Linked DNA regions of Homo sapiens: all the other regions are linked to region 6. Evidence: promoter capture Hi-C in 16 types of primary human blood cells and fetal thymus (Javierre and others, 2016). All regions are on one chromosome and are shown on one strand. Each heading gives the region's core, a stretch centred on a gene start or on the middle of the fragment in contact. The rest is flanking DNA. Distances are from core to core; before and after follow the strand shown. Region 1 overlaps USF1 (upstream transcription factor 1). Region 2 overlaps ARHGAP30 (Rho GTPase activating protein 30). Region 3 holds the start of PPOX (protoporphyrinogen oxidase). Region 4 overlaps NCSTN (nicastrin). Region 5 overlaps DEDD (death effector domain containing). Region 6 holds the start of CD48 (CD48 molecule). Region 7 has its middle 3.8 kb from the start of NECTIN4.

What was found. Contacts are between HindIII fragments. The CHiCAGO score rates a contact against its expected background, and 5 or more counts as called.
Region 1: a fragment that was not itself captured here is called in contact with the fragment with the promoter of CD48 in region 6 in 11 of 17 cell types (fetal thymus, naive CD4 T cells, total B cells and 8 more); the score reaches 17.8 in fetal thymus.
Region 2: a fragment that was not itself captured here is called in contact with the fragment with the promoter of CD48 in region 6 in 1 of 17 cell types (naive CD8 T cells); the score reaches 5.2 in naive CD8 T cells.
Region 3: the fragment with the promoter of PPOX here is called in contact with the fragment with the promoter of CD48 in region 6 in 1 of 17 cell types (erythroblasts); the score reaches 5.5 in erythroblasts.
Region 4: a contact is called between a fragment that was not itself captured here and the fragment with the promoter of CD48 in region 6, in 1 of 17 cell types (activated CD4 T cells). The highest score is 5.8, in activated CD4 T cells.
Region 5: a fragment that was not itself captured here is called in contact with the fragment with the promoter of CD48 in region 6 in 9 of 17 cell types (naive B cells, total CD8 T cells, activated CD4 T cells and 6 more); the score reaches 9.1 in naive B cells.
Region 7: a contact is called between a fragment that was not itself captured here and the fragment with the promoter of CD48 in region 6, in 10 of 17 cell types (total B cells, naive CD4 T cells, non-activated CD4 T cells and 7 more). The highest score is 8.2, in total B cells.

The regions. Positions count from the first base shown.
Region 1 is chr1:161,041,348-161,044,954 of GRCh38, reverse strand. It overlaps USF1 (upstream transcription factor 1), which reads left to right. Exons shown (of 11, transcript NM_007122.5): 2 at 1,595-1,687; 3 at 2,073-2,122; 4 at 2,285-2,400; 5 at 2,738-2,839; 6 at 3,109-3,304; 7 at 3,544-3,607. The coding sequence starts at 1,680. Among named protein-coding and RNA genes, the nearest start is that of USF1, 2.8 kb to the left of the region's middle. RefSeq lists enhancers at 1-178, 3,039-3,198. The HindIII fragment of the contact is 2,818 bases long and covers 1-2,659 here.
Region 2 is chr1:161,062,432-161,065,883 of GRCh38, reverse strand. All of the region lies in intron 1 of ARHGAP30 (Rho GTPase activating protein 30), which reads left to right. Among named protein-coding and RNA genes, the nearest start is that of ARHGAP30, 5.7 kb to the left of the region's middle. The HindIII fragment of the contact is 5,541 bases long and covers 1-3,452 here.
Region 3 is chr1:161,164,585-161,168,124 of GRCh38, reverse strand. It overlaps PPOX (protoporphyrinogen oxidase), which reads right to left and starts at 1,699. Exons shown (of 13, transcript NM_001122764.3): 1 at 1,453-1,699; 2 at 1,191-1,285; 3 at 891-1,025; 4 at 639-754; 5 at 1-130. The coding sequence starts at 1,277. It overlaps USP21 (ubiquitin specific peptidase 21), which reads right to left. Exons shown (of 14, transcript NM_001014443.3): 11 at 3,513-3,540; 12 at 3,183-3,290; 13 at 2,982-3,096; 14 at 2,402-2,768. The coding sequence ends at 2,678. RefSeq lists an enhancer at 1-644. The HindIII fragment of the contact is 28,112 bases long and covers 1-1,948 here.
Region 4 is chr1:160,346,437-160,349,967 of GRCh38, reverse strand. NCSTN (nicastrin) reads right to left here. Exons shown (of 17, transcript NM_015331.3): 3 at 846-969; 4 at 298-419. Among named protein-coding and RNA genes, the nearest start is that of NCSTN, 4.8 kb to the right of the region's middle. RefSeq lists an enhancer at 3,101-3,150. The HindIII fragment of the contact is 5,933 bases long and covers 1-3,531 here.
Region 5 is chr1:161,124,913-161,128,403 of GRCh38, reverse strand. The region is part of intron 2 of DEDD (death effector domain containing); the gene reads left to right. It also overlaps a transcript of NIT1 not described here. Among named protein-coding and RNA genes, the nearest start is that of DEDD, 6.0 kb to the left of the region's middle. The HindIII fragment of the contact is 1,588 bases long and covers 996-2,583 here.
Region 6 is chr1:160,709,761-160,713,507 of GRCh38, reverse strand. It overlaps CD48 (CD48 molecule), which reads left to right and starts at 1,686. Exons shown (of 4, transcript NM_001778.4): 1 at 1,686-1,826. The coding sequence starts at 1,745. RefSeq lists enhancers at 658-717, 1,258-1,437. The HindIII fragment of the contact is 2,140 bases long and covers 172-2,311 here.
Region 7 is chr1:161,091,514-161,095,239 of GRCh38, reverse strand. No RefSeq gene overlaps it. Among named protein-coding and RNA genes, the nearest start is that of NECTIN4, 3.8 kb to the right of the region's middle. RefSeq lists an enhancer at 2,365-2,464. The HindIII fragment of the contact is 3,929 bases long and covers 349-3,726 here.

The DNA.
Region 1 (3,607 bases), core at 1-2,500, 330 kb before region 6:
TTTCCGAGGCTTATCCATTGAAAATTTTCCTTGGATAGGAAAGGTTTGGAGGACCTTATGGGTAGAGAATTTCCAAAAATCTTGCCCCTTTTGTGTTGGGATTATCTTATTGCTTTGTACTGTGTAGCTGTTTCTTTCTGGAGGCATGTCTGCCCAGCTCTTTGTTTTTCCTGCCCTCTGGCTGGGTGTCAGGGTCCTAAGGCAGAGCTTGTAGGTGGATTCTTCCCCCTTTGTCTCTTCTTCAGAACCCTGTTTTTTTTTTTTTTACCCCTTCTTGCTCAGGCTTAGTTGATTTGGAGTTGTCATAGCAACATTTTAGCAACAGTGTTGTTCTGCAGGAAGGCTTGATGAATAAAATAGAGAATGCTTGAAGAGGATCCACTTGGGCTTTAGGGTTTCTAACAGATTATATAAATCTGGATACCCCAAAACAAGAGTCCTGTCAGTAGAATGGGGCCCAAATGCCAAGTCTAGTCTTTGTGGTCAGGGATATTCTTCCAGTGGTAGTGGGCTTCAGATTTCCTCTTCCTAGGTTTGAAAACAGAAATGTCTTGATGGACAACATGTGGCTGAGAAACTGGAAGAAGCATCAGTGTCCATGACACTGTATTTTTTGATGGTGGGGCCAATACATGGCCCTTCCTGATTCCCATGAAGCTGCCATCATGGCAGGTCATAATAGCTTTAATGATCCATTTAGAGATGTGTTGTTGGCTGGGTGCGGTGGCTCATGCCTGTAATCCAAGCACTTTGGGAGGCCGAGGCAGGCGGATCACCTGAGGTCAGGAGTTCCAGACCAGCCTGGCCAATATGGTAAAACCCCATCTCTACTGAAAATACAAAAATTAGCTGGGCGTGGTGGTGGGCACCTATAATCCCAGCTATTCAGGAGGCTGAGGCAGGAGAATCACTTGAACCCAGGAGATGGAGGTTGTAAGCCGAGATTGTGCCACTGCACTCCAGCCTGGGTGACAGAGCAAGATTCTGTCTCAGAAAAAAAAAAAAAAAAAAGAAAGAAATGTGTTGTTTCGGCCAGGTGCAGTGGCTCACACCTGTAATCCCAGCACTTTGGGAGGCTGCCGAGGTGGACAGATCATGCTCTCAGGAGTTCGAGACCAGCCGGGCCAACATGGTGAAACCCCGTCTCTACTAAAAATACAAAAATTAGCCAGGCGTGGTGGTGTGCACCTGTAATCCCAGCTACTCCGGAGGCTGAGGCAGGAGAATCACTTGAACCTGGGAGGCAGAGGTTGCAGTGAGCTGAGATCGCGCCACTGCACTCCAGCCTGGGTGACAGAGAGAGACTCTGTCTCAAAAAAAAAAAAAAAAAAAAAGTGTTGTTTCTGTCTTCCAGTATAATTATCCACTCTCCACCAGGAGTTGGAGTGATAATGGAGGGATGGGGAACACTATTTGTAGCCTTGCTTTTTCAATCACTGTAGGCCAGTCCTCAACATCAGTATGGTGGAGGCTGATTGTCCCCTGCAGATGACTGGGTTATTTTCCTGGCTATGTGTTCATGGAACCTAAGTTCTAGAACCAGAGATACTGTTCTGTTTCCTAAACTCATTGCAAACTTCATGATTTCTACCAGGACTTAGCACTCAGGCCTGTGAATCAGGAGATACAAAGACCTCCAAAAAAGGACCAGTTCCTCGGATGTGCCCCCTCACAGAGAGATGAAGGGGTGAGTGAAGAAGAGGTAGGGTCTGGGATGAAAGATGGGTGGCCTGGAAGAATGCAAAATGACCAAGAGCACTGCCTCTGGAGTCAGGCAGACCTGGATTCAGGTTCTACTCTATCACTTACTGTGTGATTTGGTTTCTCTATCTATAAAATGGAAGTAGTGCTATCTATCTCGTGGTGCTGTTTTTAGTACTAAATAAGATTACATGTAATGTACTTAGCTTAGTGCTTATGTACATAGTAAACAGTAAACACTAGTTGTTATTCTAACCTAACCCAGCTTCTGTTGGGAATGCCAATGAGTTTGCAGCCATATGTTACTGGGCCAGTGAGCTTCTCATTGACTTCTTCTCATACTCTTCCTTTTGTCCTTTCACCACAAACAGGCAGCAGAAAACAGCTGAAACGGAAGAGGGGACAGTGCAGATTCAGGAAGGTGAGTGCTAGAAACAGAACCAAGACTAAGAACCCATCATGGCCTCCCTTCCTTCCCCACCAGACCATCTCCTGTGCATCCTCCTCCTTCCGTGACATGCAAATGGAACGGGGGTAGAAAGGCAGTTAACTCACAGACTTTTCCTTTGTTCTTTTAATTCAGGTGCAGTGGCTACTGGGGAAGACCCAACCAGTGTGGCTATTGCCAGCATCCAGTCAGCTGCCACCTTCCCTGACCCCAACGTCAAGTACGTCTTCCGAACTGAGAATGGGGGCCAGGTAAGGGAGGGGGCCAGGTGGCTGCAGGTGTTATCTGGGGTTGGGATTGAGGGAGGTAATTGAACATGTCTTGGGGAGACCTGGCTTGGAGGATGAGTTGAAAGAGTGGACTGTTGCAGGGGAGGGAGGTGCTAATACTGGAGTAGAGACTGGTGTGAGGTTAGATGTATGCTGAAACCTCTGTGTGGGGAAAGAAGGGAGAATGGCTGAATCCATGTCTCTGAAGGACTTTGTTTTGGGGCCCTATCCAAGGGAAGCTTTATGAGGGGCCCTAGGATTCCCAACACTTAATCTTTTCTTCTCTCTTCACTCCCTCTGCCTTCCTCTACACTTCTAGGTGATGTACAGGGTGATCCAGGTGTCTGAGGGGCAGCTGGATGGCCAAACTGAGGGAACTGGCGCCATCAGTGGCTACCCTGCCACTCAATCCATGACCCAGGTACAGGGTATGGGCTGGGGAGGTCACTAGAGTTCTGAGAAGTAAGATGAAGAAGGGAATCAGTAGGATGGGGGTGAAGCTAGGAACAGTGAGGCATCTAAGGCTGCCTTGTCCCAAAGCACTAGGCTCTCCTTTTCTGGATGTTTCTCTCTCTCTCTCTCTCTCTCTCCACCCTACCTACCACCCCAACGGATAGAAGCTGCAGAGTGGTGTAGTGGGAAGAAGTTTTTGACTGTTACCAGAATCAGTTTTCTTGCTCCCCTTCCCAGGCGGTGATCCAGGGTGCTTTCACCAGTGATGATGCAGTTGACACGGAGGGGACAGCTGCTGAGACGCACTATACTTACTTCCCCAGCACGGCAGTGGGAGATGGGGCAGGGGGTACCACATCGGGGAGTACAGCTGCTGTTGTTACTACCCAGGGCTCAGAGGCACTGCTGGGGCAGGCGACCCCTCCTGGCACTGGTGAGATATTGCATGAGGATGCTGGCTGAAAGGGCTAGAATAGGCTGTGGGACATGACTGGTAGGCAGTGAGCCTTCACTCATGACTCTTAGTGATCATTAAGACCTGGACAGGCAGTGAGTCTGGGGCTGCTCTTCTATTAGCATGTTCTTTTTAGAGGAGGGGACCAGGGTCTTCACCTCAGGGCTTGGTGAGGTTCCTACCCATGTCCTGACAGAACCTACCCTGCATCTTCACAGGTCAATTCTTTGTGATGATGTCACCACAAGAAGTACTGCAGGGAGGAAGCCAGCGCTCAATTGC
Region 2 (3,452 bases), core at 151-2,650, 350 kb before region 6:
TAAATAAATAAATAAGGGGCCGGGTGCAGTGGCTCACGCCTGTAATCCCAACACTTTGGGAAGCCAAGGTGGGTGGATCACCTGAGGTCGGGAGTTTGAGACCAGCCTGACCAACATGGAGAAACTCTGTCTCTACTAGAAATATAAAAATTAGCCGGGCAGAGTGGTGGGTGCCTGTAATCCTAGCTACTTGGGAGGCTGAGGCAGGAGAATCTCTTGAATCTGGGAGGCGGAGGTTGCAGTGAACTGAGATCGCGCCATTGCACTCTCCAGCCTGGGCAACAAGAGTGAAACTCCGTCTCAGAAAAAAAAAGAAAAGAAAAAAGAAAAAAGAAAAAGAAAAAAGAAAAAGGAAAGATTGGGATTGATGAATTTATTGATTATTTTCTTCATTCCATATTTCTGTCATACTTTATTCAACAAAGAGCTTGGAATGACTTTCAAAACCTAAAACTTTACAAAAAATTAGAATAAATGATTGAAGGAATTGGGTTGAAGGAAAAACAAGAGGAAGAGAAAGATCAGCACCCAGAAATGCATATTACATTGTTCTGTATGGTTCTTAGAGGTGGGCTCTGAGCTTCCTAGTGGTTAAAGAGGTAAACATAGGCCAGGCCCAGTGGCTCACGCCTGTAATCCCAGCACTTTAGGAGGCCGAGGCAGGCAGATCACTTGTGGTCAGGAGTTCGAGGCCAGCCTGGCCAACATGGTGAGACCCCATCCCTACTAAATAACATAAAAATTAGCAGGGCATGGTGGCGTGCACCTGTAGTCCTGGCTACTCAGGAGGCTGAGGCACCAGAACTGCTTGAATGCACCCCAACTCAAAATAAATAAATAAATAAACATAATCAAGTGCAAGACTCATGGGCCCATAAGGAAAAAAAGTTAGATGGTTTAGGAGAACCACAGCTTTTTCCCCCTTCCCTTCCCTTCTTCCCTTCCCTTCCCTTCCTTTCCTTTTCTCTTCCTTCCCTCCCTCCCTTCCTTCCTCTCTCTTTTCTCTCCTTCCTCTCCTTCCTCTCCTTCCTTTCCTTTCTTTCTTTCTTTCTCTTTCTTTCTTTCTTTCTTTCTTTCTTTCTTTCTTTCTTTCTTTCTTTCTTTTTCTTTCTTTCTTTCTTTCTCTTTCTTTCTTGTCTTACTCTGTTGCCGAGGCTGGTGTGCAATGGTGCCATCATCACTCACTGCAGCCTCAAACTCCTGGGCTCAAGCAATCTCCTGCTTTAGCCTCCTGAGTAGCTGGGACTACAGGTGTGAGCCACCATGCCCTGCTAATTTTTTGTTTTTTGTAGAGATGAGGTCTTGCTATGCTACCCAGGCTGTTCTTGAACTCCTGATCTCAAGTGATCTACCTGCCTTGACCTCCCAAACTGTTGGGATTACAGGCATGAGCTGCCATGCCAAACACAGCTTTTTCTGACACTGATATGTGAGACGAATTGCTCTGATGAGTCCTAGTTAATAGAACCCAGTATTCTGTCACTGGCAATATTCTCTGTTAAATCTCCAAGGGATGTTATTGATTCTCATAATTGATTAATTCACTGAGTCATTTCATACCGGGGGAACTGCCCCGATAATCATGTAGGTTCTTTCCTATTTTCCTAAGCGTCGGCTGGCTTGAGAAATAAAAGGACAGAGTACAAAAGAGAGAAATGTTAAACCTGGGCATCCAGGGGAGACATCACACATTGGTAGGATCCGTGATGCCCCACAAGCCACAAAAACCAGCAAGTTTTTATTAGAGAGTTTCAAAAGGGGAGGGAGTATACAAATAGGTATGGGTGACAGACATCAAGTACTTAACAGGGTAACAGAATATCACAAGGCAAGTGGAGGCAGGGTGAGATCACAGGACCAAAGGACCAAAGCGAAATTAAAATTGCTAATGAAGTTTTGGGCACCACTGTCATTGATAACATCTTATCAGGAGACAGGTTTTGAGATCAACCGGTCTGACCAAAATTTATTAGGCGAGAGTTTCCTCTTCCTAATAAGCCTGGGAGTGCTATGGGAGACTGGAGTTTATTTCACCTCTGCAATCTGGACCATAAGAGACAGGTACGCCCCGGTGGGGGGGGCGTTCAGAGACCTACCCCTAGGTGCGCATTCTCTTTCTCAGGGATATCCCATGCTGAGAAAAAGAATTCAGCGATATTTCTCCCATTTGCTTTTGAAAGAAGAGAAATATGGCTCTGTTCTGCCCGGTTCACCGGCAGTCAGAGTTTAAGGTTATCTCTCTTATTCCCTGAACAATTGATGTTATCCTGTTCTTTTTTCAGGGTGCCCACATTTCATATTGCTCAAAAACACATGCTGTACAATTTGTGTAGTTAACGCAATTATTACGGGGTCCTGAGACGATATACATCCTTCTTGGCTGACAGGATTAAGAGACTAAAGTAAAGACAGGCATAGGAAATCACAAGGGTATTGATTGGGGAAGTGATAAGTGTCCATGAAATCTTTACAATTTATGTTTAGAGATTGCAGTAAAGACAGGCATAAGAAATTACAAAAGTATTAATTTGGGGAACTAATAAATGTCCATAAAATCTTCACAATCCACGTTCTTCTGCCATGGCTTCAGCCGGTCCCTCCATTTGGGGTCCCTGACTTCCCACAACAATTTCACAAACATTCATTGAGCATCTGCTCTGTTTCAACATTGTGCCAGATGCTGGGAGGATGTTATTATATGTCAGGAGGTATCAATACAAAATAAACTAATCATAACAAACTGCAAGAAGTGCTATAATACAAACATGAATGGCTGGGCGCAGTGGCTCACGCCTGTAATCCCAGCACTTTGAGAGGCTGAGGTGGGCAGATCACCTGAGGTCGGGAGTTCGAGACAGCCTGACCAACATGGGGAAACACCGACTCTACTAAAAATACAAAATTAGCTGGGCACGGTGGCACATGCCTGTAATCCCAGCTACTAGGGAGGCTGAGGCAGGAGAATCGCTTGAACCTGGGAGGCGGAGGTTGTGGTGAGCCGAGATTGTGCCACTGCACTCCAGCCTGGGCAACAAGAGCGAAACTCCGTCTCAAAAAAAAAAGAACAAAGACTGTGGCGAATTATAATATAGATATAAGAAAAAGGTTTGGAATTGGAGGTTATGTTTAAGATGTGCTTTTTTTCTTTTTTTTTTGACACGGAATCTCACTCTGTCCCCCAGGCTGGAGTGCAGTGGTGCAATCTCAGCTCACTGCAACAACTACCTCCCAGATTCAAGCAATTCTTCTGCCTCAGCCACCCAAGTAGCTGGGACTACAGACACATGCCACCACATCAGGCTAATTTTTATATTTTTAGTAGAGACGGGGTTTTGCTATGTTGGCCAGGCTGGTCTCAAACTCTAAACCTCAAGTGATCTGCCCACCTCGGCCTACCAAAGTGGTGGGATTACAGGTGTGAGCCACCGCACCTGGCCTAAGATGTGTCTTAA
Region 3 (3,540 bases), core at 450-2,949, 450 kb before region 6:
AGGTCCAAGGCGGCGCTGGGCAAAACTGTGCACAGTCTCATCAGGCTCTTTGCCCCGGGGCTTGGTCAGCTCCCTCAGCCCAGCCCAAAACAGAGGTTTGGAGAAGGGGGGTGAAGGGCGGAGTAGCCCCCTGCATGGAGAAAGGCATAGTGAGGGGGAAGCTCCTGACATACCTCCCCAGCTCCAGGCGCTGGGGTCATTTCCACTCATTTGGCTTCCTTTTGCTGGGAAGGCTGACAGGGAGATGAAGAAATGGAAGGCAGGTCGGGCGTGGTGGCTCACGCCTGTAATCCCAGCACTTTGGCAGGCCGAGGCGGGCGGATCACAAGGTCAGGAGTTCAAGACCAGCCTGGCCAATATGGTGAAACCCCATCTCTACTAAAAATACAAAAACTAGCCAGACGTGGTGGTAGGCACCTGTAGTCCCAGCTACTCGGGAGGCTGAGGCAGGAGAATCGCTTGAACCCGAAAGGCGGAAGTTGCAGTGAGCCAAGATCGCGCCATTGCACTCCATCCTGGGCGAGAGCGATACTCCGTCTCAAAAAAAAAAAAAAAAAAAAAAAAAAAGAAAAGAAGAAAGAAATGGAAGGCATATGAGGATGAGGGCACAGTAAAAGGAGCGGAGGTGCTGGTGTTACCTGAGGCCAGTGGGTAGGGCATGCAGGGCACCGCCCACGTAGAGGAACCTGTTCTGGGCAGCTGGGTGGTCTCCCCGGACAGGCAGCACTTCTGAATCCAAGCCAAGCTCAGAAACCTGCTCTCCACATGCCCTCAGAAGAGGAGAAACTAAGGGAAGATCTGACCCACCAAACATACTTCCTCCCCTAAACTCTATTCCCCAATGGAAGCCCCCTCCACAACCTCTCCTAGACATCCCACAAGCCTCTCACCAGGAGCAAGGTCCGGGCCCCTAGGGCTCCCGCTGGCCTAATTCCCCGAGGTCCAAGCTCAAAGATAGCACCATTAGGGCCTCGAACGGAGCGAATCCAGCCTCCCAGACGCTCACTGCTCTCCACTAGGACCACCTGGCGACAAGAGGGAGAGACACTGCAGCACCGCCTGTAGCCGCCGGCGAGAGGTCAGGAGGGGAGGGGAAGAGGCATATTCAGAGGGCCAGGATCCATCTAGCTTTTGATGGAAATGGGAAGAGCATTAAATGAAGCTCCCTCTGGCACAAGTGGAGCACTCACCTTAGGGGGGCAGGGGGCCCGGCTCAGGTGGTAACTGGCGGCCAAGCCGCTGATGCCTCCGCCCAGCACGACCACGGTCCGGCCCATGCGGAAACCTGGGGGAAAGGGGGCGATATGGACAGGCAGACCGGGGACAACCTGCGCTCCAGAAGCCCCGCCGGTTTTGAGTTCTATCCCGGCCACTCACTGCTTTAGGGGAAACTAAGTGTGCACGGATGGGCTGGTGGAACAGCGAGGTCCCCGTCCAGGGGCCAGGACTCACCCACAATAGGTAGGGATGAGAGAAAATGAGGGAGAAGGAGATCGAGGTCCTAAGACCGTACCCCGCCGGCGCTCTGCTGGGTGCAGATAAGGGCCACACCCTCGCTATCGGCCCTCGCAGGGCTCGGGCGGCGGGCAGTACGCCTGAGTTCTGAGGTGCTCTGCTTGCCACACCTCTGTAGGCCAACAAGTGCTTCAAATCCGCTACTCCCACCCCCAGCCTTTTCGGTCTCTCCTACGCTCCGTCCACTCTGTTCTCGCGGCACGCGCCTAACCCTACCTCTCCTACATCTGGATTGGCGGGACTTGGAAGGCCCCGGATCACGTTCACCAATAAAACATTGAACTGGCAGAGGCGGAGCGACGGCAGCTGTAAGAGCTGGAGGTTAACCGTGTTAGCGCCGAGCTGGGAGTGAGCGGCCGTACCCGTCACTGCCCTCCTCAGGACCGAGGCGGCGAGCGCTTAATGCTGGAGTTAGCGTTCCCCAGCACAAGCTTACCAGGTCCAGCTAGGGTGACAACCCTAGAGGGAAGGCCGCAGGAGCTTTGGTCGTAGGGAGAATAGATAGGGACACTTAAGGCCAGTCCACGGGGAGGCGGCTCCATAAACAGCTCCTTGATGTTAGCAACAGACCGGGCCTACGGGAGCTAGGGCCGCCCGGCAACGTACCCAGTGTTTGTCAACAGTGGCACTCCCCCATCGCCGACCAAACCAGTCGCCCCAGAGCCTGCACGCAGCCTCACTCAAGTATGCCTTTCCTCTTTTCCTCCCAGTACATAACCTTCACTGCTGGGGGACACAGGTCCGGGTCCAGCACCATCCCCGAAACCTTCCCCCTCGGCTCTGAGAGCGCCCCCACCTGTTAGAGAGGGAACTTGGGTCCCAAGAAGACTCCAATTTGGCTCAGTTCTCTATCACCCCCTAAGCAAAAATACAAATAAGCACATCATTTTTTCTTAATAAATTTATTCACAAAAAGTGATATTGCAGAGGGTCTGGGGGCTGTACATGGGCAGGGGCTTGGTGAGCTTTGTACATGGGGCTGGGAGACAAGGGAGCCTCCAGGTGGAAGGGTATTTTTTAATAAAAAAAATAATGGAGCTACAACCACCCCCTCCCCCCTCCCCGATTAAAAAGACACAAAAATAGACGTCTCTGAGGTAAACGGGGAGCCTGGGGCTTAAGGGTGTTTAAAGGGCTTCACAGGTGCCAGAGCTTAGAGGTGTCACAGGCACCGGGGTGGCTCCTGCATCAGTTGGTAGAACAGCACGTAGCCCTCGCTGGATGCCACCTGGTTTTCACTGACAGGGGAGACACTAGGAAAAAAGGAGATCGGGAAAGGGTTGTGGTCATTCCTGTTTACTCCCTTCTCCCTACAAGACCGAACCTCAGAGCATCCAGGAAATGATCAGGCAAGACCTCCACCTCTCCTTTCACCTGGCACTCTGCTCTCCTGGAGCTTCATAGAAGGGGAGGGTGTCAGGGCTGAGTGGGAATGGGGCAGGATGTAAATAGGAGGCTATTCTCACCGAGAGTCATTGTAGACATGCCAACCAGTCTGGCACCGGCACAGGGCTGTGTAGTGGCCATAGTGGACGCTGCCTGAGTGGTTGCAAAGGGCATACAGCTGGTATACAGGACTTCCTGCGGGGTTGGAGATGATCAAGTTCTATAATCAGAGCTGTGCCCCCACTCCTTTGGCTCCTTAGGACTTTCCCCACCAGACTCACCGGCTTTGTCACTGGCAAAGTCCCCTAGGCTCAGTCGCTGCAGTGGAAAGTCTACACCTACTGAACTTTTTTTGATGGAGCCTCGGGAGGCAGAAAATCGATTCAGATCTAAGCCCTGGTTAAGGAGCATTTGGGAGGCAGTGGGCCTCTGAGGGGAACTTCTTCTATCCTGAAAGCTGTCCTCTCCCCACTCCCGACACACTGGGAGCATCTTGTGGAAAAGTGGGTGGCAGACTTTTCCTAAGGAAAATTCAATTCTCTGGAAACATGGAGGAAAGAGAATGTATGGGAGGTATCCTAAGAGAAGTAAGAATCTGAAGATTAGGATATGGAGCACGAGGATTCGAGGGAATCTTTG
Region 4 (3,531 bases), core at 736-3,235, 360 kb after region 6:
TCTATTACCATCCACACTAAAATAGAAAGACAATGGTATCAGGGAGTCTTAGGCTGTAAGATTAGGGATGTGAACACGTGACAAAAAGAGATAATGCCAGGTAAGGCAAAGGAAGGGGAAGCAGGAGAGGGAAGGGATGAGCAGCAAAGACAAATAAACACTACCCCCTGTTTGGGAGTCAGTTACTGACACTACACACAGACACAAACACATATACATCCCTCACAAAGACGTAAGACCGAAGCAACAGTGAGCCTTAGGTGACAGTAGGCTCTCCTGATCCTTTGGGACACTTACCAAACCCATCATTTGGGCACTGTACACTAGGAGAGAAGCCTGAGGCAGGACTGGGCTTGGTCAAGGACACTGCAAGACCAGCAATTCGGCTGGTTCTCCCTTTCAGCTTCTCCATTAAATCCCTGGAATAGGAAAGGAATTCCATGAAGGAACACAGGAAGGTATCAGACAGCCTGACATTCTGCCTGCAGGATGGAAACAAATGGGGAACTAGGGGAATCAAACTGTTGACTTATTTCTTCCCTTTCAGTCTCTAAATTCTGAGTCTGGACAATGATCTGCTCTAAAAAGTAGAGCTTTAGTGAGTAAGGACCCCAGGGAGGGAGGGGAGGGATGCCCAGGGTTACTCAGGGACAGGTAGGTGAAATTTAGCCCTAAGCTCAAGATCATTTCTTTTGATGGTACACCTTTCCTTCTGAGGACCACCCTGCCCTCTCCCCTGACCAGACCAGGGCAGCCAAGGGAAGTTTTCACTAATAAGTGTGAGGACTGTTCACTGAAACTTTCCCTCTATGGATGTTTTCCCAGCAGATACATCTAGTTCTTACCTGGTAAAATGCTTGCTCTCCAGCAGAACCATGTAAGGGGGGTTGGGGCCATCAGTCAATACCCACTGTAGGTCCTCCTCTTTCTCTACTACGTGGATAACCCCTGTGTCTCCACTAATTGAAGCTGCCAGGACAGAATGAGTCAAATTAAAGCTCCCATAGTTAACAATTCTGACTTTGCCTCACTGATTCTGCGTATCTTTTATCCCCTAAAGATGTCACAACATATTTGGGTGAATACAGGCACCTCTAGATTTGAACTGAAAAGCTGTTGCCCCAGCTCCATCTGAAGGTTATCAGGAGGGAATGGAATATAAAAGAGCACAAGAGGACTCATTATATGCCAGAAAGGTTCTGTGAACTTCATTTTTTTGCCCTCTGCCCTCAACCTTATTTAGCCATATACATAAGATTCTACAACAATAGACACCAAAGTTTTCAAACCTATATTTTCTCTAGGAAATGCCACTAAATCTCTAGCTCAGGGTTTTAGCTTTGAATCTTCCTTTGTAAAAACACATGCATACATGCCCTTGGCCTCAGGAGCTTTCCTGGATCGTCATTCCTTTTGCCCTTTTTGGGAATGACTTTACTTGCTTCTGGCCGGTTTTAGATGAGGTTAGTCAAGAACTCTGAGGTTTCTAAAACAGAGCTTCCCAATTGATAAGCCTCGAATGGATCAGAGATGTGCTCTCATTGGTTCTCCTCATTCCAGGAAACCTAGGGTTTCCAAAGTCACCTCCAGCCAGGAGCCTACTTATCATTTACCCCAGGATGCCCTGAAAATATCACCCATTTCTCTATGTGCCAGGATGCTATACAAATAACATTTTCTATGTGTCTCATGACATGATAAAGATTGGGAAGCACTGTATTAGAGGATGGATGACCCAGAGTCCAGAATACTTTGAATTCTACATAATTCAAGGCATTAGGTAATACTCCTTAAGTCCCCAGTGATCTGTGTGGAGATATCCTAGGGTCTCCCTGTGAGTCTTCTCCCTACAGAAAATTGGATATGTTATTCATCAATTATTTTAGACCAGTAGTTCTCAGCCCTGGCTGTATATCAGCATCACTTTAAATGCCCACTCAGCCTCCCAAAGTGCTAGGGTTACAGGAGTGAGCCACCATGCCCGGCCCTTGCCACAGCATTTAAAACATGGGAAAAGGAACAGATAGTGTGGCAACTAAAACATATATAACTTCGGCCGGGCACAGTGGCTCATGCCTGTAATCCCAGTACTTTGGGAGGCCGAAGTGGGTGGGTGGATCACTTGAGGTCAGGAGTTTGAGACCAGCCTGGCCAACATGGCGAAACCCCATCTCTACTAAAAATACAAAAATTAGCCAAGTGTGATGGTGCACACCTGTAATGCTAGCTACTCAGAAGGCTGAGGCAGGAGAATTGCTTGAACCTGGGAGGCGGAGGCTGCAGTGAGCTGAGATTGTGCCACAGCACTCCAGCCTGGGTGACATAGTGAGACTCTGACACACACACACACACACCCCAAAACTTCAACTCCAGCGAGGACAGGAAGACAAACTATGATACTGGACTGAAAAAAACCTGGATTCTAATCTGGGTTCCAACTAGTAATGGTGTAGTCTTAAGTAACTTGCTTATTTTCTCTGCGCCTTCAATGAGGTTTTCTACCTCTATTCATCTCATACTGTGGGGACAGACGAAAGAAGGAAGAAAGGATAGAAGGAGGGAGGGAGGGAAAAGAAACCTATTTAAAGCCCCCTTTGAGAACTTTAAAGCGTCTAAGAGAAGCAGAGTATTATAATCAGAAATCAAATCTGGGTATCACTTTTTTCTCCTTAGTTTTATCATGTTAGCTACACTAATTAAAAAGGGCGGAGCCTGCTCAGAAAAGACAGATATGACGAAGTAAGATTTGGAAATAAGTAGGTTGAAAAGGAACCAAGATCTTAATGAGGAAGTGGCCACAGTCCCGCTTACCCCCTCTTGTTTCTCTGTACTGGCACGTGGCTTTACCTCTAGAGGCTTTGCTTCCTACAGAGCTGTTTTAAGAACATAGAGTAGAATGACTTATTCCCAAAGGAGTTTTCTTAGAGCCTAGTTACAAGAGGTTGGGGTCCTGGCCTTCTGTACTTTATAGTGAGGTTCCAGCAAGACCAGCAGTCTGATCTCAGCCCACCCTGGACCTAGCTCTCTTCTACCTACAAACCAGTTCAGAAACTAAGTCCAGAGGGCTGGGCATGGTGGCTCATGCCTGTAATCCCAGCACTTTGGGAGGCCAAGGCGGGCAGATCACGAGGTCAGGGGTTCGAGACCAGCCTGGCCAACATGGTGAAGCCCCGCCTCTACTAAAGATACAAAAAATTAGCTGGGCACGGTGGCACGCGCCTGTAATCCCAGCTATTCAAGAAGCTGAGACAGGAGAATTGCTTTAACCTGGGAGGAGGAAGTTGCAGTGAGCTGAGATTGTGCCATTGCACTCCAGCCTGGGCGAGAGGGCGAGACTGCATCTCAAAAAAAAAAAAAAGAAACTAAGTACAACAAAAACTTTATTTGGGGCTGTTTGGAACCAGTCAACCTACTCCCAGTGCTTTGTATAGCAGGGACATGGGACAATTAACAGATACTATAGCTCAGGGAAAGATGGCTAAAAAAGTAGTAACTGCTTCCACGAACAAGTCCTTCACTTCTCAGTGTCCC
Region 5 (3,491 bases), core at 540-3,039, 410 kb before region 6:
ATCTCAAACTCCTGGGCTCAAGTGTTCCTCCCACCTTGGCCTCTCAAAGTGCAGGGATTACAGACGGGAGCCACTGCACCTGTCCTATAGGATGTTTCTAAATATCCCTGGCTTCTACTCATTACATGCTGATGGCAGTCCCCTTCCCCACCAGGCATAATAATCAGAAATGTCTCCAGACATTGCCACATATTCCCCAGGGGTCAAATTTGCCCCTGGTTCAGAACCACTGACCTAAAAGCTATTATAATTCCTAGTACATTGATGATCTAGCCTGGGATCTAGGACTTAAAGGTGGCTAGTGTGTTTGTTTCCTCTCAAATGTAGGGAGTTAACTTCAAAGGATTGAAGCTTATAGAATTACATCCATTGATACATAATTAGGACCACAGTGCTTTCCTGTATTTTGCCTTATTTTCCATTGCGAGGGTATGTGGGGACAGTGTTTCTTCATTTCCTGGGGTTTAAGCACACTTTAAATTAGGGAACTGTGGAGCAACCAGCTCTTCTGGTTGGTTTAATGTGAAACCTACCCAATCTGCTTTATCTGAGAGCCTCACAATCAACAGCTGGCCCAAGGGAACAGGTGGGATAGGGAACAAAGAGAAGTTGCAGGGGCTCTGAGGAGGCTCAGTTTTCTCATGTTGCCTGCTATGAGCAATAACTTATTTTCCTTTAGCACCTTCATTTGTACCCAGTAACAGCAACAGGTGAATCGAGAGGAAGAGGCAAGGAATACCAGTCTATAGTTGAATAGCTATTTCCCATGCTTTGGGTGGGGCATCTGGGCTCTCAAAACTATATATGGATTACATTTCCTGTCTACATATCAGAACCCATGGTATAGGGTTAAGTGATCCCAGAGTGTACCTCCCCTTTTCTTAAGGGAATGAGTTTCTCTGTGCTTTCATTTTAGTTTTTCATCTGAGGAAGAAAGGACCAGTTCCTACTTACTCTTCAGCTTTCTCTATCAGCTTTGTTTTTCCAAAGAAGCTTATTATTTTATTGTTTCCTAGTCTAGCCTCAGTTCCTTTTTGTATAAAATGGACAGAGCAACCTGTTTAATTGTTGAGTAGGGTAGAGTGGTGTGGTATGGTGTGGGTAGTTCTGGACATTGCAGAGGAGGCTATGGCTAGTTAGAATATATGCATGGTAACTGAATTACCTGTATCTGTTTTTAATGGGGTCCTCTCTTGGACTTTTGTGAATTTGTTTCTTAATTGGAATTGCTTGAGGTGATCTCTTGGAGATTAAGTTCAGTTCAACAGTGGGTTGCTCCCACTATATTTGAGGCTCTGTCCATTACTAGGCACTAGGGATATAAAGATGAATATATCTCTCCATGAGTTGAGTAGGATCTAATGGGATAATAAATACACAAATAATTTTAGTACATGGTGATAAATGGTGTAAAGGAGATATGCATAGTGTTCCATAAGCGCACAGAAGAGGACTACTTATCTCTGCATGGGGGTGTAGAAAATGCATTTTGAAGATGGCATCTGAGCTGACTCTTAAAGAATGAGTAGGAGTTAGCCATCTGAAAAAGAGTGATGATGGGGGTGTGGAATAGAGAAGGGAGAGGGGCATTCAGGCAAAGAGAAGAGCCTGAAGAAGGTATAGAGAAATTGCATGATGTATGTGAACTATAAACAAACTGATAATGTTAGAGAATAAAAAGCGGATGTGATGGGAAATGAGGTTGGGAAGGTAGGCCTGATCTTAGAAGGCTTGATGTGTGTGTAAAGAATTTGGAGTGTTCGGCCAGGCGTGGTGGCTCACACCTGTAATCTCAGCACTTTCGGAGGCCGAGGCAGGCGGATCACAAGGTCAGGAGTTCGAGACCAGTCTGGCCAATATGGTGAAACCCCGTCTCTACTAAAAATACAAAAAGTAGCTGGGCGTGGTGGTGGGTGCCTGTAGTCCCAGCTACTCGGGAAGCTGAGGCAGGAGAATCGCTTGAACCTGGGAGGCGGAGGTTGCAGTGAGCCAAGATCGCGCCACTGCACTGCAGCCTGGGCGACAGAGTGACTCTGTCTCAAAAAAAAAAAAAAAAAAAAGAGTTTGGAGTGTTCTTATAGATAACGATGGGGCAATCAATGGGTCTGAAGCAGGAAAGTGACTTGGTCAGTTGTGGACTTCAGACAGCTAACTGAACTAGATGTGGCAGTGGATGGATTTAGGTAGGTTAAGATTGGTGTTGCAGAGAACTTTTAAAGTTACAGTAGTCCAGGTGAGAGATTATTGTAATCTGAACCATGGCAGTGGAGGTGGAAAGGTAGGATAGATTTAAGAAATATCTAGAAGTAGCATTAACAGGAATTTAGGATTGATTGTGTGATTGGAGAGTGTGACCAGAGAGTGCACAGTATAGGATGGTACTGTCTGGTGGAGCAGTAAGTATGAGTGACTTGAGTCAAAGTTGTTGAATTTGGGAATTGATTAATGGCTGCGTCATTGGTATTACCTGTAGCCCATAACGATGGAGGAACTTTGTGAATCAAGAGCCAAACTATATAACGAATGTGGAGCTGTGATTGGTCATTGATAGGGGATTGGTAAATGACATCCATGAGGAAAGCTTAGAAGGTGGTATTGCCAAGGCCAGGTACGGTGGCTCACGCCTGTAATCCCAGCACTTTGGGAGGCCGAGGTGGGTGGATCACCTGAGGTCAGGAGTTCAAGACCAGCCTGACCATCATGGTAAAAACCCATCTCTACTAAAAATACAAAAATTAGCAAGACGTGGTGGTGCGTGCCTGTAATCCCAGCTACTTGGGAGGCTGAGGCACGAGAATTGCTTGAACCTGGGAGGCGGAGGTTGCAGTGAGCCGAGATTGCACCACTGCACTCCAGCCTGGGTGACAAAGTGAGACTCCATCTCAAAAAAAAAAAGTTGATATTGCCAAATAGGGTGAAGATCAAGGGAGTACAAATGGCATAGAATTACAAGAATGCTTATTGTAGAAACTTAATGTTTATTTTAAATCCATGAGTTTTGGTAAATATTGATAAACTTTCTGAGCAGTTATCATTTCTTGATGTGGTTGGATTGTAGGAAAAATGTGGAGGGATGATTCTGGGCTGCAAAGGCCAAGGATGCTTGTATCTTTGAAATGTTTCACAACCATTTATATAAGGGTTACCCGTGATTTTCTCATTGGATTCTTAACAACTCTGAGGTGTATATTCATTCATCCCTGTTTATAGATGACAGCACTGAGAATCTGGAGTTAAGTGACTTGCTTACGGTCACACAGCTACACAGCCTTTCAGTGATACAGTCAGAATTTAAACTAGTTCTTTTTTTTCCGAGATGGGGGACTCACTCTGTCACCCAGGCTACAGTGCAGGATTATGGCTCACTGCAGCCTTGAACTCCTGGGCTCAAGTGATCCTCCTGCCTCAGCCTCCTGAGTAGCAGGGACTACAGGCACATGCCACCATGCCTTGCTAATTTTTTTCTTTTTTGTAGAGATGGGGTCTTGCTA
Region 6 (3,747 bases), core at 437-2,936:
TAACTGTATTCACTCCATAGTGCTACAGGATGCTGGAACTTATTCCTCTTCTCTAGCTGTAACTTTGTATCTATTAACCAACTTCTTCCCATCCTCCACTTCCCTCTACCCTTCCCAGCCTCTGATAACCACAATTTTACTCTCTACTTCTATGAGCTCATTTTTTAAGCTTCCATATATGATTGGGAACGTGGTTTTTTATCTTTCTGTGCATGACTTATTTCACTTAACATAATGTCCTTCAGGTTTGAGGACTGAGAAGAGCAGACATTTTATTGTTCATCTCCATGTTGAGAATCAGAAATGTCCCCAATTAAAAAGTGATTACAAATATGTTATATCAGGAACTGTGGCTTGCCTGTGGGTCCTGGGTGGGCAAATAACTAATTTACATTCAATAGGAATGAGCTTGAAATTTCCTAGACATGATATGATTTGGCTGTGTTCCCTTCCAAATCTCATCTTGAATTGTAGTTCCCATAATCCCCACATATCATGGGAGCAACCCAGTAGGAAGTAAGTTAATCATACGAGCAGTTACCATCATGCTGTTCTCGTGATAGTGAGTTCTCACTAGATCTGATGGTTTCATAAGGAAGGGGCTTTCCCCATTGCTGCTCAGTGCTTCTCTTTCCTGCCACCGTGTGAAGAAGGACGTATTGGCTTCCCCTTGCACCATGATTGTAGGTTTCCTGAGGCTTCCCAAGCCATGCTGAACTAGAAGTCAATTTAACCACTTTCCTGGCCAGGCACAGGCCCATGCCTATAATCCCAGCACTTTGGGAGGCTGAGGCAGGTGGATCACTTGAGGTCAGGAGTTCAAGACCAGCCGGGCCAACATGGTGAAACCCTACTAAAAATACAAAAATTAGCTGGGCATGGTGGTGCTTGCCTGTAATCCCAGCTATGTAGGAGGCTGAGGCAGGAGAGTTGCTTGAACCTGTCAGGTGGAGGTTGCAGTGAGCTGAGATTGCACTGCTGCACTCCAGTCTGGGCTACAGAGTGAGACTGCATCTCAAAAAAAAAAAAAACCAAAACAAACAAAACAAAACAAAACCCCTCTCTTTCCTTTATAAATTACCCAGTCTGGGGTATGTCTTTATTAGCAGTGTGAGAACAGACTAATACAGACTACAAGGGTGGGAAATCCATTCTTTTGGGCCAAGTAATCTTACTTTTTTTCTGATGTTCAGTGGATAGGCTGATGTCAAACTTCAAATAGTGAATTATCATAAAGGAAGAAGAGCAGAGGGTGGTGCTGGGGGTAAGATATGCAGCACAAAGGCTACGTGGGTCTGATTTCCCAGACTTCAGGCTCTGAATGACACCTACCCAGGCTTGACTGGGAAGCTCCTATGTCTTAGCCCCTGAATTAATCAGAGGGATTCCTGCCTGGGAACGAAAAGCAGACATTCTCTATCAGGGTCCCTTATTCTTTTCTGAGTACTGGCCCCCCTGAGAGTACAGTAGAAGCTATGAATCTTCCCCCTACAAAAAAGCACTCATGTACCTTCAAACAAAATTGTTCTCAGTTTCCGTGATGCTCTTAGATAAAAAAATTTACAAGACCTCCGGTTTCTGGTTTCTGGGGCCCCACACAAGTGTGCTGGGTGGAGAGAAAATCTCAGTGGTTTTTTTTTTTTTCTCTCTAACCCTGTTTGGTAAGTTCCGTTTTTAGCCCCGGCCTTTTTCTAGCCAGGCTCTCAACTGTCTCCTGCGTTGCTGGGAAGTTCTGGAAGGAAGCATGTGCTCCAGAGGTTGGGATTCGTGTCTGGCTCTGGAATTGCTACTGCTGCCTCTGTCACTCCTGGTGACCAGCATTCAAGGTACTTTCCACCAACTGTGTATCTGTGATTGTGCACTGAAGGCATGGTCAGTTGGGAAAGGGGAGACGGGATGTAGTTCAACCCTAGAAGCCAGATCTGGTGTCTGGAAAGCAGGTATTTCCATTCCAATAGCATGGCCATGGCATGGTTGGGGAGCCTTTCTTAGCACTGATGAATGGAGCTTCATCTCCTTTCCCACGGGGATGTGATCAAAACAGGAACCTGGGGAGCAAGAGAAGTAGGCTCCTCATATTTTGTCCCGTGGTTGGTGGTCCATGAAGTTGTGGAAAAGTGTTTGTTTTTTCATTTTGAATAAGAAGAAGCTCTACACTGACAGCTGCTGCATTTTATGCTCAGACACACTGTACTCCCTTAGGCATTCTTTGAGACCTCTGTATATGTGAGGTGTTGCATCCTGAGCCAAGGTAAATGATATTGTCATTGACCCAAAGAAAAGATAGATCAAAATTATAGGAAGAAAAGCTTGGAAAGGATTGCTGTCTGGGGTCTCTGAATGAGGGTCTGAGAAGAGGCTGGAAGTGCTTCAGCATCAAAGGAACCTTAACACATCTGATTGCTAAGAGTTAAGGTCCATTCCTCTGCCACAGCCTGTTCGGTCCCCGGTGTGTGACCAAGGGCTGAGCTAACTTTCCTTCTCCTGTTAGAGCTGCCTCACCCTCTTTCTTCATCCAGTACCTCTCTTCTTATGCCAGCTGAGAAACAGCAGTGAAACCTTTGACTTTCTTGCTATTCCCCCAAGTAAATACTCAAGTCTTTTTAATTTAAAGGGCTTTAATGCTCACCACTCTGAGTAAAACAGTAAAAATCAACAAACATGTGGTAGTCACACTGTGGCATAAAATGATGATAGTTTGTAACTTTTGGGGAGATGAGGTAGAATGTGTGGAGGATCGGTCTCTCACATATTCTACCTCTCAGGTAGAGTCCTTTGGTTCATGACTGTGTGAGTCTACGGCTATATAGGTTCTGTGGGCCTGACTCAATGCATAGGACATTGGTATGACCTTGGGATTGGGGGCTGATGTGAAGTATTCATCTAACTATTGGGAAAAGCAGGGTTGCCAATGAGAATTGGAATATTTTAGGACTTTCTCTAGGCATACTGAAAACATCCTGACAGTTGACCTTTCTCTGACTTCTTTTCTAGGCTTCATCTTGGTCATTTATTCTTCTTTGAAACAATCAGACCACACCTGATTATGTTATCCTTTGAATGGATAATATTGGTTTTGATGAGGTTAGTAAACCTGGGTTATAACACCCGGGCTATAACCTGGGTTAGTAAAATACAAATTAAGCACTTACTGTGTGTCAGACATTGTGCTAGGCCTTTTGCATACTTTTTCATTTAACTTTCATTAGAAAATAGTGAGGTGGCTATTATTATCTACATTTTTCAGATGAGAATACTGTCTTGCAGAGAGATTAAGAAATTCTCCTAAGGGCACACAGGTCTAACTTCCAAACCATTCTATTATGATTATACCTTTCCTAGACTAAGGCGAGGGAATCTTGGTGAAGGTCAATGTGTCTAAATCTCTTAATTTTACTGTTTGCCTTAAAAGAGGCGTTTTCTCTTACCTCTGGGCTTATGTACATGCCTTCTTTCCACCTAGATTTCTCTCCCTCCTGCCCTCTCCCTGCCTCTCTTTTAGGCTTCTGTTTTTATGTGACTTCTTCTTGGACTGTCTGCCTGTGACTGTGTTCTGAAGGCATGGTTAGATGGGAACCTCAGGCTCCAGATTATGGTTTGTGAATTGCTTGGTGGATCATCTGTTTCCTTGAACTTTTTGAGGACAGAAACCATGTGCAGTGTTGTGCTGCTGAACTTAGCACAGGCCTGGAGTGTGGCATGTGCTCAATAAATAATTGTTACACAAATGAATGAACAACTTCAAAA
Region 7 (3,726 bases), core at 1,064-3,563, 380 kb before region 6:
CATCCTTCAGGCCCTTTCTTTGACTCTTCTTCTGCTGTACCCTGACCCTTCTCTATTTCTCACACAGCTCATTCTAGCTGCTTGACTTCCTGGCCCTATGCCATCCTGGCCCCATTTCTGACTCTTTGCTCTCAGCTCAGCCAGAATAAAGACAGGGACAAAAGGACAGAGAAATGACCAGGCAAAGAGACTGCATGAGGTCAGATCTTGAGAGCTCCTTTGACTGAATGTGAGCTAGAAGGAGATTGAGAGAAAGGTGAAATTGTAAGCAGGCTTTAGGGTGGAGGGGAGTGGTAATCAGCCAAGGTAGAGAATGATGGAGAGGTGGAATAAGGATGGGGAGAAGCTTATGTTGTTGAGGGAGTAGGCAATGTTGAGTAGGAAAGTATCATTGGGTCATTGCTGAGCGGTGGGAATTGAGGGCAGAAGACAGAAGGACTTTGAGTAATCATGGCATCCAGAAATTTCTCTTCGGGTCCTTCTGTCTCTGTTTCAGATTTTGTCTTGGCCACTTCAGCCACTTTGTCTCTTTGAATTCTCCCCCTTCAATAACTCGCGCGCGGGCGCGCGCGCGCATGTGTGTGTGTGTGTGTGTGTGTCTCCAATACAATCCCTGACTTACAATGGTTCAACCTACAATTTTTCTTTTTCTTTTTCTTTTTTTTTTTTTGAGACGGAGTCCTGCTCTGTCACCAGGCTGGAGTGCAGTGGCACAATCTTGGCTCACCGCAACCTCCGCCTCCTGGGTTCAAGTGATTCTCCTGCCTCAGCCTCCTGAGTAGCTGGGACTATAGGCACGCACCACCAAGCCCAGCTAATTTTTTGAGTTTTTAGTAGAGACGGGGTTTCACCATGTTGGCCAGGATGGTCTCGATCTCTTGACCTCATGATCCGCCCACCTCAGCCTCCCAAAGTGCTGGGATTACAGGTGTGAGCCACCATGCCCAACCCAACTTATAATTTTTAAACTACAGTGATGCAAAAATGATAGCGTGTTCGGTAGGACCCATACTTGAATTTTAAATTTTGATATTTTCTAGGGCTAGCGACTGGTATATTAAATGCATTTTCAACTTATATGTTCAGTTTGCAATGGGCTTATCAGGACATAACCCCATCATAAAAGTCAAGGAGCATTTGTATATTTTTCTGTCTTTAAGTTTCCATTTTTCTCACTGTGCCTTGAGATCTGTCTCTCACTGTTTCGACTTTTGTGTTTTTCTCTCTGGGTTACTGCCCTTTTTTTCCTGCTGACCAGAGCCAGCCATCTGACTTTCCTGCAAGGAGCTTTAGAACTTTCCAGAAGTGGCCAGACTTCTTCCCTTTGGCTGCTTTCTAGAACTATAGCACCAGTTTGGGGTCCCCGGGCACAGTCATAAGGTCTCAATTTTTGATGAAGACCTGAGTGAGCTTCAATACATAGGGCCTTTTCAGGGAGTAGAATTTCCCCACAGTGGGGTCTTAGTGTCAAAATAAAGATATTTGTCCCTTAACCCATACTGTGGTCCTGGATTTCATGGTAGTGTGTTCATGGAAACTTGCGAAGTTCATGGGTTGAGAGCAAGGAGGATGGGGCTCTGCACACAACTGGACCTACCGAGAAACGGGACCTGAACATGTCTTGCATTTAGCTGCCTCCTCCCCTGGATGGCACACTCCAGCTTTAGGGCCCTCGAGGAACAAGCAAATTCAGCCCCCTGATCTCCAAGGGTTGTTAGGCAACCAAGAAATGTGGTTATCATTAAAGGATGGGGCTGGGGGCTGGGTATTGGGGAATCGGTGGGCCTGCAGGATAGGCAAAGAACAACATAGCACATGGCAATGTTTTGATGTAATTTTCTAGAAAACAGGAGGCCACCATCCTAATATTGAGCATAGTGAAGTTCCATCAGGAGGGGAGTAAAGGTGTTTTCTAGGGGAAGAAAAGCTGCTGGAGCCCCTGTGTTCTGTATGGGGGTATGCCCATACCTCCCGGGATGGAGCAGGGGTGATCCTAGGGAGGAGCAGGAGGAGTGACTTTGAAGCCTTGGTCCTGGGGGGTGAGATCAAGGCCCATATTGGTAATCTTTCACCACGTCATCAGCTCCCCAACACCTTTCTGTACAAACTGCGGAAAGTTTGCAATGAGCAGATCAGGAATAGCTTATCACAGAGACAAAGCTGTACAGAAATGGATCACAAATATTTTATCCACTCTCATGCTTCCAACTAGTTCCACTCTGATTTATTTTTCACCCTCCTCTCTCCCTAAGCACAAGGGACTCTCCCCCAGCCTCTGACTCTTCTCTGACCTGGGACTTCACTGCAGGCAGACAGGATATTACTCACCAAGGAGCTCTCTCATCTACTCCTACCCCCAACTCATCCTCCTGCACCCCACTCTCACTCCCACCCCTTCCAACCTGGGCCCACTCCTTCCCTCCCCCACTCAATCTGACCCTCACTCTCACTCTTCTTCTCCCCCACACCACCCCACCCATCCTTGTCCCTCTCTGACTCACCTCAAGTCCCATTGACACAAACAAAAATTTCAGCACAACCCACTCCAACCGGTTTGGCTGAGGCGTGCAGCCTGTCATGGGGACAGAGACAGGTATAAGCGGATGCTTGGATGCATGCAGATCATGAAGAACATCCGCTGCTGTGCATACAGAGACAGTCCCACATATGTGCATAGCATGTATGTGTACAGAGATACGTAGGGAACACATGATGGTGGGATATAGCATGTTACAGTTGTTTCTGTGTCTGCCTCTCCTGATTGAAGGCTCCTTGAGGGCAGGGACTATGTGTTATGTGTCTCGGTCTCCTCCCTTGAGCCTGACACATAGTGGCACTCATTTAATGTCTGTTGAAGGAATGCATGGGTGCAGGCGCGCACGCAGCAATGTCACTCAGACAAACACACATGATAAAGACACTATCATGGCTTGAATTGTTCTCATTCTTAGCGACCACAATGTGGGTAGGAGGAGGGTAGGAGTGAGGCATGTGGGGAATGGGAATTCAATATGGAAGGGAGAACCGAACCAGGATACCAGGCATTGGTCTTGAAAATCTTCCTCATCCAATATTTCCTTCCAGTCTCAATCCTAGAATATGCCTTCCCCAGCCTTCATCCTAGGAGAGGGTAGGAAAGGCCTAAGTTTGAGGGCATATTCTCCAAAAGCATGGCTCTTGTGAGACATACAGGGCTGAGGGGAAGGAGGGGACAGAGGGACTTGAGATAGGTATTTGTGAAATGAGGAGAGAGATCCCTAACTCTGTCAAAGGCCTGGAGTGGGCTGCTGGACTCTAGTGCTCCCTCTCAGGCCCTGTGGTGCCCTTAGCCTACTTCAAGGCTGCATCATACCCATGAAAAAATGAGTATAGCCATACCCTAACTCCACCTCTGGACAGTTCTGCCTCCTTTCCATGCTCCGTATGGCTAGAGTTCAGGGTGAGTGATTAAGGGGCCCAACCAGGGGTTCAGAGACATCCTGACTGGTAGCACTTTCACGGGGTATACTGTGAATGGATAGGCTGAAGGAGATTGGATATCCATCTTGTGAACTAACTGCTTTTCCACTCCTGTGCCTCAGTTTCTCCTGTGGCTTCCTGTACCTGGAGGGGTGAATCCGTGGGAAGGAAAGCAGCTCCTCCGAAAGCATGCGATAGGATCCAAGGTGTGATAATTATAATTATAACACAGGATGCTCCCCCTCCCATTCCCGCTGGCCCTACTCC